Linked DNA regions of Homo sapiens: regions 2 and 3 are each linked to region 1. The links are contacts of gene promoters, found by promoter capture Hi-C in human tissues and cell types (Jung and others, 2019). All regions are on one chromosome and are shown on one strand. Each heading gives the region's core, a stretch centred on a gene start or on the middle of the fragment in contact. The rest is flanking DNA. Distances are from core to core; before and after follow the strand shown.

Evidence for each region. The method cuts DNA at HindIII sites, captures the fragments that hold promoters and counts their contacts. A contact is called where the count stands out against the background at its distance.
Region 2: a fragment that was not itself captured here is called in contact with the fragment with the promoter of MEOX1 in region 1 in 1 of the 25 tissues and cell types used here (psoas muscle).
Region 3: a contact is called between the fragment with the promoter of DHX8 here and the fragment with the promoter of MEOX1 in region 1, in 1 of the 25 tissues and cell types used here (IMR-90 fibroblasts).

What each region holds. Positions count from the first base shown.
Region 1 is chr17:43,660,250-43,663,986 of GRCh38, reverse strand. It overlaps MEOX1 (mesenchyme homeobox 1), which reads left to right and starts at 2,065. Exons shown (of 3, transcript NM_004527.4): 1 at 2,065-2,921. The coding sequence starts at 2,453. RefSeq lists an enhancer at 2,771-3,312. The HindIII fragment of the contact is 25,285 bases long and covers 1-3,737 here.
Region 2 is chr17:43,841,055-43,844,791 of GRCh38, reverse strand. All of the region lies in intron 2 of LOC107984979 (a long non-coding RNA gene), which reads right to left. Among named protein-coding and RNA genes, the nearest start is that of CD300LG, 4.3 kb to the left of the region's middle. The HindIII fragment of the contact is 4,230 bases long and covers 1-3,737 here.
Region 3 is chr17:43,482,093-43,485,829 of GRCh38, reverse strand. It overlaps DHX8 (DEAH-box helicase 8), which reads right to left and starts at 1,855. Exons shown (of 23, transcript NM_004941.3): 1 at 1,645-1,855. The coding sequence starts at 1,792. RefSeq lists enhancers at 1,591-2,020, 1,320-2,162. The HindIII fragment of the contact is 21,666 bases long and covers 1-3,737 here.

The sequences.
Region 1 (3,737 bases), core at 816-3,315:
ATCCCAGCACTTTGGGAGGCCGAGGCGGGCGGATCACGAGGTCAGGAGATTGAGACCATCCTGGCTAACACGGTGAAACCCCGTCTCTACTAAAAAATACAAAAAATTAGCCGGGCGTGGTGGCGGGTGCTTGTAGTCCCAGCTACTCGGGAGGCTGAGGCAAGAGAATGGCGTGAGCCCGGGAGGCGGAGCTTGCAGTGAGCTGAGATCATGCCACTGCACTCCAGCCTGGGCGACAGAACGAGACTCCATCTCAAAAAGAAAAAAAAAAAAAAGAAGTTCAGAGAGATAAGGTGACTTGTTCCAGGGCACACAGCCAGGAAGTGGCAGACCTGGGGCTTGAACTCAGACCCGTCTAACCTCAAACCCCATGCCTCCTCCTCTGCATCTGGCCTGCTCCAAACTGAACAGCAGGACACCTGAGGCCAAGTGCTGATTCCACCATTTCTTAGCTGTGTGAGTCTGGGCAGCCCAGTCATCCATCTGAGCCTCGGTTTTGTCATCTGCAAAATGGAGACATAATTCTTACTTACCCATCCTAGGAAAGTTGTGAGGCTCAGAGAATTGTGTGTGCCACAGCTAAGCCCTGGGCAAAGCAGAAAGATGAGTCTGGTTGACAGCTATGACCCCATCCACTCTACTGGTCTACAACACTCTGACCGCTTGTTCCAGAAGAGGGCACATCTTTTCATATGTACACCCCTCCCCATCTTTTACAGCTGCTCCTGCTCCCAGGATGTGTATCTGACTGGAGTTTCTGGATTAAAGGCCAGTCGTGGCTTCATTCCACATCCCTGGGTGCCCTTCGGCTCCTCCTAGGAGCATCTCCTGCACCCACCCCCCAGGGCCCCACCTCCAGGCTGCAGAGCTAAGACCTAGGGGCCCCTCCTCAGGGAACCCTCGCCGTCTTTGGAAGCAGCCAGCAGAGACGCTGCTGTTAAGGTCCATGCCTGTTTCTGCCCCCATCCTGCTGCTCTGGGCCATGGGAATAACCAGTGGGGAAGGAGTTCTGGCCCCTGGGTGTTAGGAATGTCGTCCTCCAAGAAATTGCATTAACCCTCTGAGAGACCAGCAGGGCGCAGCCATGAGGAAGACTGGGCATCAAGATGGCACTTGGGCTGGCTGCCCTGTGATGTGCACCAGCCCGGAGACCCACGTGCCTGCTTGCCAAAGAGGCTCCTTTGGGGAATGAGGAGCCCCTGATTCCTATTTCCCTACCCCAAATTCCTCGGAAGCCTCCGCCTCTGGGGGATGAGAAAGGGAAGCAGGTGGGTGGAGGTGAAGGGGGCAGGGAGCAGGTGGGAGGAGACCCGAAGAAACTTCAAGGACCTTATTTAAGAGCCTTGCCATTGCTGTGAAGAAAAATGACTTGAAACCTCTCTAGAGAAGAGTGTGGCTAATTGGCATGTATGTTGGAGGTTAAAGAGCGGAAGGAAGAATCTGATTGTTTTTTTAAGTTACTGAGAAAGTGAGAATGTCACTCTGGGCAGAGAGAAATTCTTTTTTTCTAGAGTGTGCCTTTCTTTGTACTGCAGACCACAGTGGGCCGCTGAGACTTGCAAAAAAGATTTCTTTTAATCCACCTTCCTTTTTCGCAGGCAGCAGTAGAAGGGCCTTTAAATCAAATGCAATCACCAAGCTTGTCTCTTGCTCTTATTCCTCACTTCACTCCCTGGAATTTGGCATTTGATGGATTCTGGATCTGACTTAAGGCTTTTTCTAAATCCAAGACTTGGGGAATTTTGTTAACAGTGCAATAAAAATAACTTCATAGTGTTACAGGAGGCACATTAAAGACGGTGTGTGTGTATGTGTGTGTGTGCTGCTCTCTTTCCTTAAAAAAAAAATACAGACAATGTTTCTTTAAAAGTCTCCATCTGCAAATCCCATTAGATGTGCATATAAGGTTTCTGATGATTAATAGTTGCCTGCTAGGGTTTTGGTTGGAGGGGATCTTGTGTGTGTGGGTTAACCCCTCCCTCTCCTCTCTCACATTTCACTTCAGAAATTTGTCACTCTCTCCCCACCGCAGGATTTAAAAGTGTGTCCCAGCAGCCCTGGTCCAGCCCTCTGCAGGCATTTGCTCTGGGCTCCAGGACGAACTCCTCGTCAGCTGGTGCGTCTGGGTTGGGACAGTGAAAATGTTTAGTGTCATTGGCGACAAATACACATACAGGGGATCCCAGTAGGTAGGCTGGTGCATTGGAGGGGCAGGAGCAAGCCCGACATAGGTGTGTGCACACACATAGGAGTAGCTGGCCACATGTGTGTGTACTTTAAGGAGAGACTTTAGTTTTGGGTTTTTTTTTTTTTTTGGTTCCTGGGGTAAATTTTCTGTTGAACATTTTTCCCTCCTATTTAGTTTTTTTTCTTTTGCATTTTTAAAAATTTGAACATAAAAAGTATAAAGAATCAAATCTTTGAAAGGACCGAGGCGTGCAGCGGACAGCAGATGGATCCCGCGGCCAGCAGCTGCATGAGGAGCCTCCAGCCCCCAGCCCCTGTCTGGGGCTGCCTTCGAAACCCCCACTCGGAAGGCAATGGGGCCTCAGGGCTACCCCACTACCCGCCCACCCCGTTCTCCTTCCACCAGAAACCAGACTTCCTGGCGACAGCGACGGCAGCGTACCCTGACTTCTCAGCCTCCTGCCTGGCAGCCACCCCACACAGCCTGCCCCAGGAGGAGCACATCTTCACTGAGCAGCACCCCGCTTTCCCACAGTCCCCCAACTGGCACTTCCCTGTCTCAGACGCCCGGCGCAGGCCCAACTCAGGCCCGGCAGGGGGTTCCAAGGAAATGGGGACCAGCAGCCTGGGCCTGGTGGACACCACAGGAGGCCCAGGCGATGACTACGGGGTGCTTGGGAGCACTGCCAATGAGACAGAGAAGAAATCATCCAGGCGGAGAAAGGAGAGTTCAGGTAGGTGGCTCAGGAGCAGCTGATCATTCCTTTACTGTGTGACCCTGGGGAAGTTACTCACCCTCTCTGTGCCTAGGTGCTCTGAGCATGAATTTCTGTCTAGTCCATCCAAATGCAGGAGACTGGACCAGTTACCTTTGGGGTTTCTTCCACTGAGAGTTCTAGGATTCTCTGGTGATGGGGACCATGTCTGTGTCCCAGCACTCCTGGGCCCCAGAAAGGGTGTCCAGCAAGAGAATGAAACAGGATCAGCCAGGATTTGGAGGACACGTGAAATGGATCCTCTGGGTGCAGACTGGCGAGGGCTGGTGAGGGGCTTTCCTGAATCAGGCTGCCATTGAGTCATCCTCCTCCCCACCATGCTTTGGCCAGCCCCAAGTGGTCCTAGAGCCACAGGGCTCGCTTACCAGGGAAGTTCAGCTGAGGTTAAGGCTCTGAGAGCTAAGACTGAAGCTGGGACCCTGGGTGGCCACCCAAAGCCAAGACCCTATGTGTCCAGGAGCCTAGAGGCAGAGAAGCAGGCCTGCGGCTGGGATGGGAGAATCAAGGGGTGAGGGGGAGATGGAGGGCTGAGGTTTGGGGCAGACTGCCCACCAGATATCACCCTGCGGAGCTGGGCCATGTCCAGGCCAAGGGGACAGACAACTCAGCATGCTGAGATCTGGCTGACCCCCCAGGAAGGCAGCCCCGCAAGGAGCTGCAAGGGATGGGCAGCCTCTGAGAGAGTCAGGGAGGCAGGCAGCCAAGGGAGTCCGTGCTGGAGTCCCAGAGGCTGGAGGATGAGATTGGCCTATTTGTTAAGATTCCAGCTAAAGC
Region 2 (3,737 bases), core at 801-3,300, 180 kb before region 1:
AGAGCATGTTGAGTGGATCCCTACCCTCTTCCTGCATATTTGAAGGTCCTTCCCCTCCATTTCCCAGCCCCACACCTAGCCCAGGAGGCTGGCTCAAGAACTCCATTAGAAACAGATTCACCAGACTGGGAAGTGGAGCAAGGGCTGGGGAGAAGGGTGAAAGTGAGGTGCTGGCATGAGCCTCGCACCTAGTTCCACCTTAGGCCACACTCTGGGGTAGATGGGGCCAACAGACAGACCTCCGTGGTGGGCTGGGGATCTGAGAAGAGAGGATATTTTTGTCCTGCTTCCCACCAGAAGCATGGGGAGGTGCCCCACCATCACTGCACCTGGGAGAGGCAATGAGGCACAAGGGCTCCTGGACAGGTCACTGGGCTCGTGACAGCCTCATCACATCCTCAGGAAGGCCTCTGTGTGCCCAAGAGGTACAGTGGCAGGGATGAGGGGACTGAGCTGCTTGGTCTTCGATGGCCACCCTGGTCCAATTCCTCTCGGTTTGGACTTGGACTAAATCACTTCAGCTGCTCCAAGAGGGTCACTTGCTCCTCTTAGATCAAGGTTTCCCCAACCTCAGTACTGTTGACATTTTAAGTTAGATAATTCTTTGTTGTGGGAGACTGTCCTGTGAATTATAGGATGTTTAGCAGCATCTCCAGCTGTACCCCCTAGATGCCAGTAGTCCCTTCCCAGTTGTGATAATCAAAAATGTCTCCAGGCTGGGTGAGGTGGCTCATGCTTATAATCCCAGCACTTTGGGAGGCCAAGGTGAGTGGATCACTTGAGCCCAGGAGTTTGAGACCAGCCTGGGCAACATGACAAAACCCCGTCTCTGCAAAAAATACAGAAAATTAGCCAAGCATGGCAGTGTGCACCTGTGGTCCCAGCTACACACAGGCTGAGGTGACAGAATCACCTGAGCATGGGAGGTCGAGGCTGTAGTGAGTCGAGATCCCATCACTGCACGCCAGCCTGGGTGATGGGAGTGAGACCTTGTCTCAAAAAAAAAAAAAAAAAAAAAAAGGCCGGGCGCAGTGGCTCACGCCTGTAATCCCAGCACTTTGGGAGGCCGGGGTGGGCGGATCACAAGGTCAGGAGATCGAGACCATCCTGGCTAACACGGTGAAACCCCGTCTCTAAAAAAATAAAATACAAAAAAATTAGCTGGGCATGGTGGCGGGCACCTGTAGTCCCAGCTACTCGGGAGGCTGAGGCAGGAGAATGGCGTGAACCCGGGAGGTGGAGCTTGCAGTCAGCTGAGATCACGCCACTGCACTCCAGCCTGGGTGACAGAGCAAGACTCTGTCTCAAAAAAAAAAAAAAAAAAAAAGCCTCCAGGCATTGTCAAACATCCCACTGAGAGGCAAAAATACCCTGGGTTGAGAACTGCTGTCTTAGATGATGAATAACTGTGGAACAAATAAGTGCACTTTTGTGTAAGTTATGTTTATTGTTTATGTAGGTCAGGGTGTTCCATCTTTTGGCTTCCCTGGGCCAAGAAGAAGAATTGTCTTGGACCACACATAAAATACAGTAACACCAGTGATAGCTGATGAGTTAAAAAAATAATCTCATAATGTTTTAAGAAAGCTTACGAGTTTGTTTGGGGCTTCATTTAAAGCCATCCTGGCTGCATGCAGCCCGTGGGCCGCGGGTGGATAAGCTTGATGCAGGCATAGTAACACGGTTTTGGAAACAGGACAGTGGGCAGAACCTAATGCTGAACCCCAGAATCAGGTAAAACTGCGTCCTTCTTTCCTCAGTGGAGCTGGGCCATCCTCGTAATACTCAGGGTGAGGTGTGGTGTATCAGTTTAGAACACACACTTTTTGCAGGTGGGCCAGCTCACCAGAGAAAAGGAAGAAGAGAGCCGGGTTACACACGCCTTGTTCCTCCTTCAACATTCATCAATCAAATCAGCAGAGGCATGGAGAAAGGCGTGGAGAGGTGTAGAGAGAGGCGTGGAGAGGCGTGGAGAGAGGCGTGGAGAGGCGTGGAGAGAGGCGTGGAGAGGCGTGGAGAGAGGCGTGGAGAGGCGTGGAGAGAGGCGTGGAGAGGCGTGGAGAGAGGCGTGGAGAGAGGCGTGGAGAGGCGTGGAGAGAGGCGTGGAGAGGCGTGGAGAGAGGCGGGGAGAGGCGTGGAGAGAGGCGTGGAGAGGCGTGGAGAGAGGCGTGGAGAGGCGTGGAGAGGCGTGGAGAGAGGCGTGGAGAGGCGTGGAGAGAGGCGTGGAGAGGCGTGGAGAGAGGCGTGGAGAGGCGTGGAGAGAGGGGTGGAGAGGCGTAGAGAGAGGCGTGGAGAGGCGTGGAGAGAGGCGGGGAGAGGCGTGGAGAGGCGTGGAGAGGCGTGGAGAGAGGCGTGGAGAGGCGTGGAGAGGCGTAGAGAGAGGCGTGGAGAGGCGTGGAGAGAGGCGTGGAGAGGCGTGGAGAGAGGCGTGGAGAGGCATGGAGAGGCGTAGAGAGAGGTGTGGAGAGGCGTAGAGAGAGGCGTGGAGAGAGACTAAGAGTTTTGTGCCAGTGGGGTTCTCTGCTCATGGAAGGAAACATCAGGAGTGGGGAAGACGTGTCCCCGGCAAAGACAAATGAGCCACAAGACAGGAAGATTTGGATTCCTGAGCTACCACTTGGAAGACAGCTGCCCTGGACAGCCACCAAGCGTGCGGCGGACTTGGAATGAGCAAGAGATAGACTTTTCTGTGTTTAGCCACGGAGATCTTGCAGTTTGCTAGTTGCTGTAGCACAGTGTAGACCACCACCATGCTTTTTGTTTTCCGTCATACATTCATCCTCTAGTCTCCTCGCAGCTTCCCTACCCTAGCTGGTTGCAAACTCGATTTTTCAACTTTCTCCATCAAACAAATCTGAAAACTCCCTTTCAATTTTTTTTTTTTTTTTTTTTTTTTTTTGAGACAGCAGGCGCGATCTCGGCTCACTGCAACCTCCACCTCCTGGGTCCAAGCGATTCTCGTGCCTCAGCCTCCTGAGTAGCTGGAATTACAGGCACGTGCCACCATGCCCAGCTCATTTTCTGGTATTTTTAGTAGAGACAGGGTTTCACCATGTTGGCCAAGCTGGTCTCAAACTCCTGACCTCAAATGATCTGCCTGCTTCGGTCTCCCAAAGTGCTGGGATTACAGGTGTGAGCCACCGCACCCGGCCCCTTTCAAATTTTTTATGTTAACCAATTACTTCGGGGAATGACAGGGAAAATGATGGAGGAGGGCAGTAATGGGAGACTGGTAATGCCTCAGGAGCTCAATCAGTAAATGCCCACGTTTACTGATAGGTAAATTTCAAATCTTCTCAGAAACTTTGAAGGCTAACTGCAATGTGTTATCTTGGACTGGATCCCAGAACAGAGAAAGGATATTAGTGGAAAAACTAGTGAAAGATTAATAAAGTCTGGAATTTCCTTAATAATAACATTCCAATGTTCATGTCTTAGTTTTGACAAATGTATCATGATTATGTAAGATGCTAACATTAGAGAAAACAGGGGAAAGGGTGTTCAGGAACTCTCTGTACTATCTTTGCAACTTTTCTGTAAATCTAAAATTATTCCAAAATATAAAGTTTATTAAGAAAAAAGAAAGTATACTGGGGAGGCTGAGGTGGGAGGATCACTTGAGCCTGAGGGGTCGAGGCTGCAGTCAGCCGTGAGCATGTCACTGCACTCCAGCCTGGGTGACAGAGCGAGACTGTCTTAAAAAAAAAAAAAAAGCAGTGAAAAGCTAAAAAGAGCAT
Region 3 (3,737 bases), core at 606-3,105, 180 kb after region 1:
AGATCTTTAGCTATAAATAAACTAAAAGATTATGAAGTTTATACTTCGCTCTATTTTTGTACACAAATGAAGTTAACATCAAAACAATTAAACACTGGGGGTTAATGTCAATAACTTTTTTGTTTCTTCTAAAAGGCCAAGGTATTAGGAGTTAAAATGAAAACAGAGAGAAAGGTAAGCTCCCTGAAAGCAGAAATCTGTCTTGTTCTCTGTGGTATGCCTAGCCCCCAGCTCAATATTTGCTGAATAAAGGAAACATATTAACGAGATAGCAAAACCGACGAAATTATCACCTCATTATCAACTAAAAGAGAAGAATCCTGCGGGAAAAGTTATATAGGACAGACACATCTTGGCTGGGAGGCAAGAGAAAAAAGTAAACTAAAATATACTGGCTGCAGGGCATCTTCCTAAATGCTATATGGTGACCCTGTGAAGACATCGTCCCACTTCACAGATGAGAAAAACAGCTTCAGAGAAACTATGAATCTTACCAAAGGTCACTCGTCTAACTTCCCTAACCCCTCCTGTCACCTGCCCCTTCCCTTCCATCCCTCCGGTTGATGACTTTATCTTCATTTAGGAAACTGAAGAGTGGGCTGGAACTCTCTCACTCATCTTCCCACCACCAATCTCTAAACTCATCTGAATCTGCAACTGTATTCTCTGTCCTCGCTCCTGTTACAACTGAAGAAGCCTTGCTGTACGTACCAAAGGTCAATCCATCCATTGGTTGCCCTTGATCCCATCCATCCTCTGTACCTTCATAAAGGCTCCATCTGTCTATGGCTTTAGCTTTAGGACCCTAGCCTTTTCTAATTCCTCAGTTTCGGCTCCCCAGATGTAGTTTGCCCCAAAACATCTAGTGACTGGTGTTTAAGACATAGTACAGGACGCAATGGCTCACGCCTGTAATCCCAACACTTTGGGAGGCCGAGGGAAGAGGACTGCTTGAGCCCAGAAGTTCGAGACCAGCCTGGGCAATACAGTGAGACCCCCGTCTCTACAAAAAATTTAAAAATGAGTCGAGCTTGGTGGCGCCCGCCTGTAGTCCCAGCTACTCGGGAGGCTGAGGTGGGAGGACTGCTTGAGCCCAGGAGGTGGAGGCTGCAGTGAGCCGAGATCGTGCCACTGCACTCCAGCCCGGGAAACAGAGCGAGGCCCTGCCTCAAAAAAGAGTACAGGATGAACGGTCAAAGAACACAGTTAAAAGCACAGACGCTAACTACTATGTCACAGAGTGGCGTGAAGACCAAATAAAATAATGTCAATAAAGAGCTGAGCATCGCATCTAGCACATAGTGAGCACCCAATAAACGTCAGCCATCATCGTCGTCATCGCAGCATCTGCTGCTGTTGTTGTTAAACATGTTTAATTGAGGCTGAAAAAACAAACAAAAAACAATCAAGCAGAGATGACCGCCCCGGGCTTCACTGACAGCTCTGGGAAAGTTTCTAAAGTTTCTCGAGGGCTCTCAAGCCGAGGCCACGGCAGCGTGTACCCTGGGCACCGGTGTCTGCGACAGAGAGAGACAGATTCACACGAACATACTTTCGGTCCATCAACCACCTTTCTCCTTCCTCCTTCCTCCTTCCGCTTCCCTCAATCCCAAACTGAGGTCCCAGGGACCTCCCCGAGCTCACCAAGGTCCTTGTCGTTGATCCCCAAGTGATTGTCCAGCTCAGTGCAAACCTTTGACACCAAAGACAGGTACTCGAGTTTGGCAAGTTCTTCCGCGGGGCCTGGCTCCGACCCGATTAAGGCTCCCGCCATGGCTACAGCCACAGCCATGGCTATAGCTTGCCCAGAACCTCCTTCCTCACAGCCGGCGCTCAGAGCTACTCCGGCCGGGTTCCAGCTTTCACTTCCGGGTCAGCGCGCGTCCCCTTTGTTTACGGTAAATTGAAAATTTGAGGAACGAATCAAGTCCCAACAGGATGGATCATAGAGATCAAACAGGAAGTGCTTAAGGAAGGGACAACTAGAGTGGGTTACTCTGCACGCCGATCTGCGCCCTCTACAGGCGAGAAAAATCTCCGCCCGCCCTCAGGCCTGGAAACGTTCACTCAGCGCGCTCCCGCCCTGGGTCGGCAGAGGGCGACCCCGGCCTGCACAAGAGGCGCCGGGAGGCAACCGCAAAACAGCCTGCGCCTGCGCTTTAGAACACTTGAAAAAGGAATCTTAATGCACGTCTGGAAAAAGACAAACTTGCTTTACTGTGGATCCGCAAATTCCCGGCCTCACTTCTTTGTGGTTCCTGTCGTCCGATCTCAAGTGACCCTTGACAAGCCAGTAGGCAGTAGATTGCCTTCTCTTGTTTTACACACGAAGAAACTGGCACTTCCACTGCCAGCTGGCTGCTTGGGCAAATCAATCTCTGGGGCCTTAGTTTTCTCATCTGTAAACTAGAATAATGTTGCTCTACCCTAAATGGAATAACTGCAAGGAGTGTGACACAGAGTAGGCACACCGCAAATGACAGTTACTGTTAATATCACAAGGCTAGGCCGGGTGCAGTGGCTCACGCCTGTAATGCCAGCACTTTGGGAGGCCGAGGCTGGTGGATCACTTGAGGTCAGGAGTTCCAGACCAGCCTGGCCAACGTGGCGAAACTCCATCTCTACTAAAAATAGAAAACTTAGCCGGGCGTGGTGGTGGTGGGCGCCTGTAGTCCCAGCTACTCGGGAGGCTGAGGCACAAGAATCGCTTGAACCCAGGAGGCAGAGGTTGGAGTGACCTGAGTTCACACCACTACACTCCAGCATGGGCGACAGAGTGAGACTTTGTCTCAAAAAAAAAAAAAAAAAAATTCAAGGCTGAGATGATGGTCACAGAACTGGCCTCTGGTCTGTCAAGCACAGATCCCCTTAGTCTGGGAACCCACAGAGCCAGCTGCCTCCACTCTTGTGAAAACCTGCTTTTCAATCCCCAGTTTTCCTGTGTCCTCTCAGAACTTATTCCCCCAGGGGCTGGGCACTGTGGCTCACCCCTGTAATCCCAGCACTTTGGGAGGCCGAGACGGGCGGATCACTTGAGGTCAGGAGTTCAAGACCACTCTGGCCAACATGGTGAAACCTCGTCTGTACTAAAAATACAAAAATTAGCTGGGCGTGATGGTATGTGCCTGTAGTCCCAGCTACTAGGGAGGCTGAGGCGGGAGAATTGCTTGAACCTGGGAGGTGGATGTTGCAGTGAGCTGAGATCTCGCCACTGCACTCTAGCCTGTGCGACAGAGTGAGACTCCGTCTCAAACAAACAAAACACACACACAAAAACAACAACAAACCTTATTCCCCCAAATATCAGCTGTGCTGTAAGTCCAAGGTCATAAGCTCAGGTCTCCCAACTTCTGCTTCAGGTCTTTTTTACCTTTGTGGCAACCTTAATGTGGGATGGGGATTTTTCCCACACTCCAGTGCTCTGTGTGATGAGTAAGGAAACAGAAGCACCCTAAAGTGAATGGCTCTCCAATCAATCGGAAGGAGGAAATCAGTCTCCCACTTTTCACTTTGGCAACATTTTTACACTGGTGTACCTTTGGACTCTGTTTCTTCAACATCTCATCATGGACTGAAAAATGACAGGCAGAGAAAAACCCAGCCATTGTTCTCACTGTCTCCAGAAGCTCCAGGTTTCCAGGTTCCTAAGGAATCACTACTAAACCCTCTGAGTTCTTCCTACCCCTCCCCATTTCGCTTCCTCTTTCTCCCCATGAATAGAATGGAAAACTCTGCAC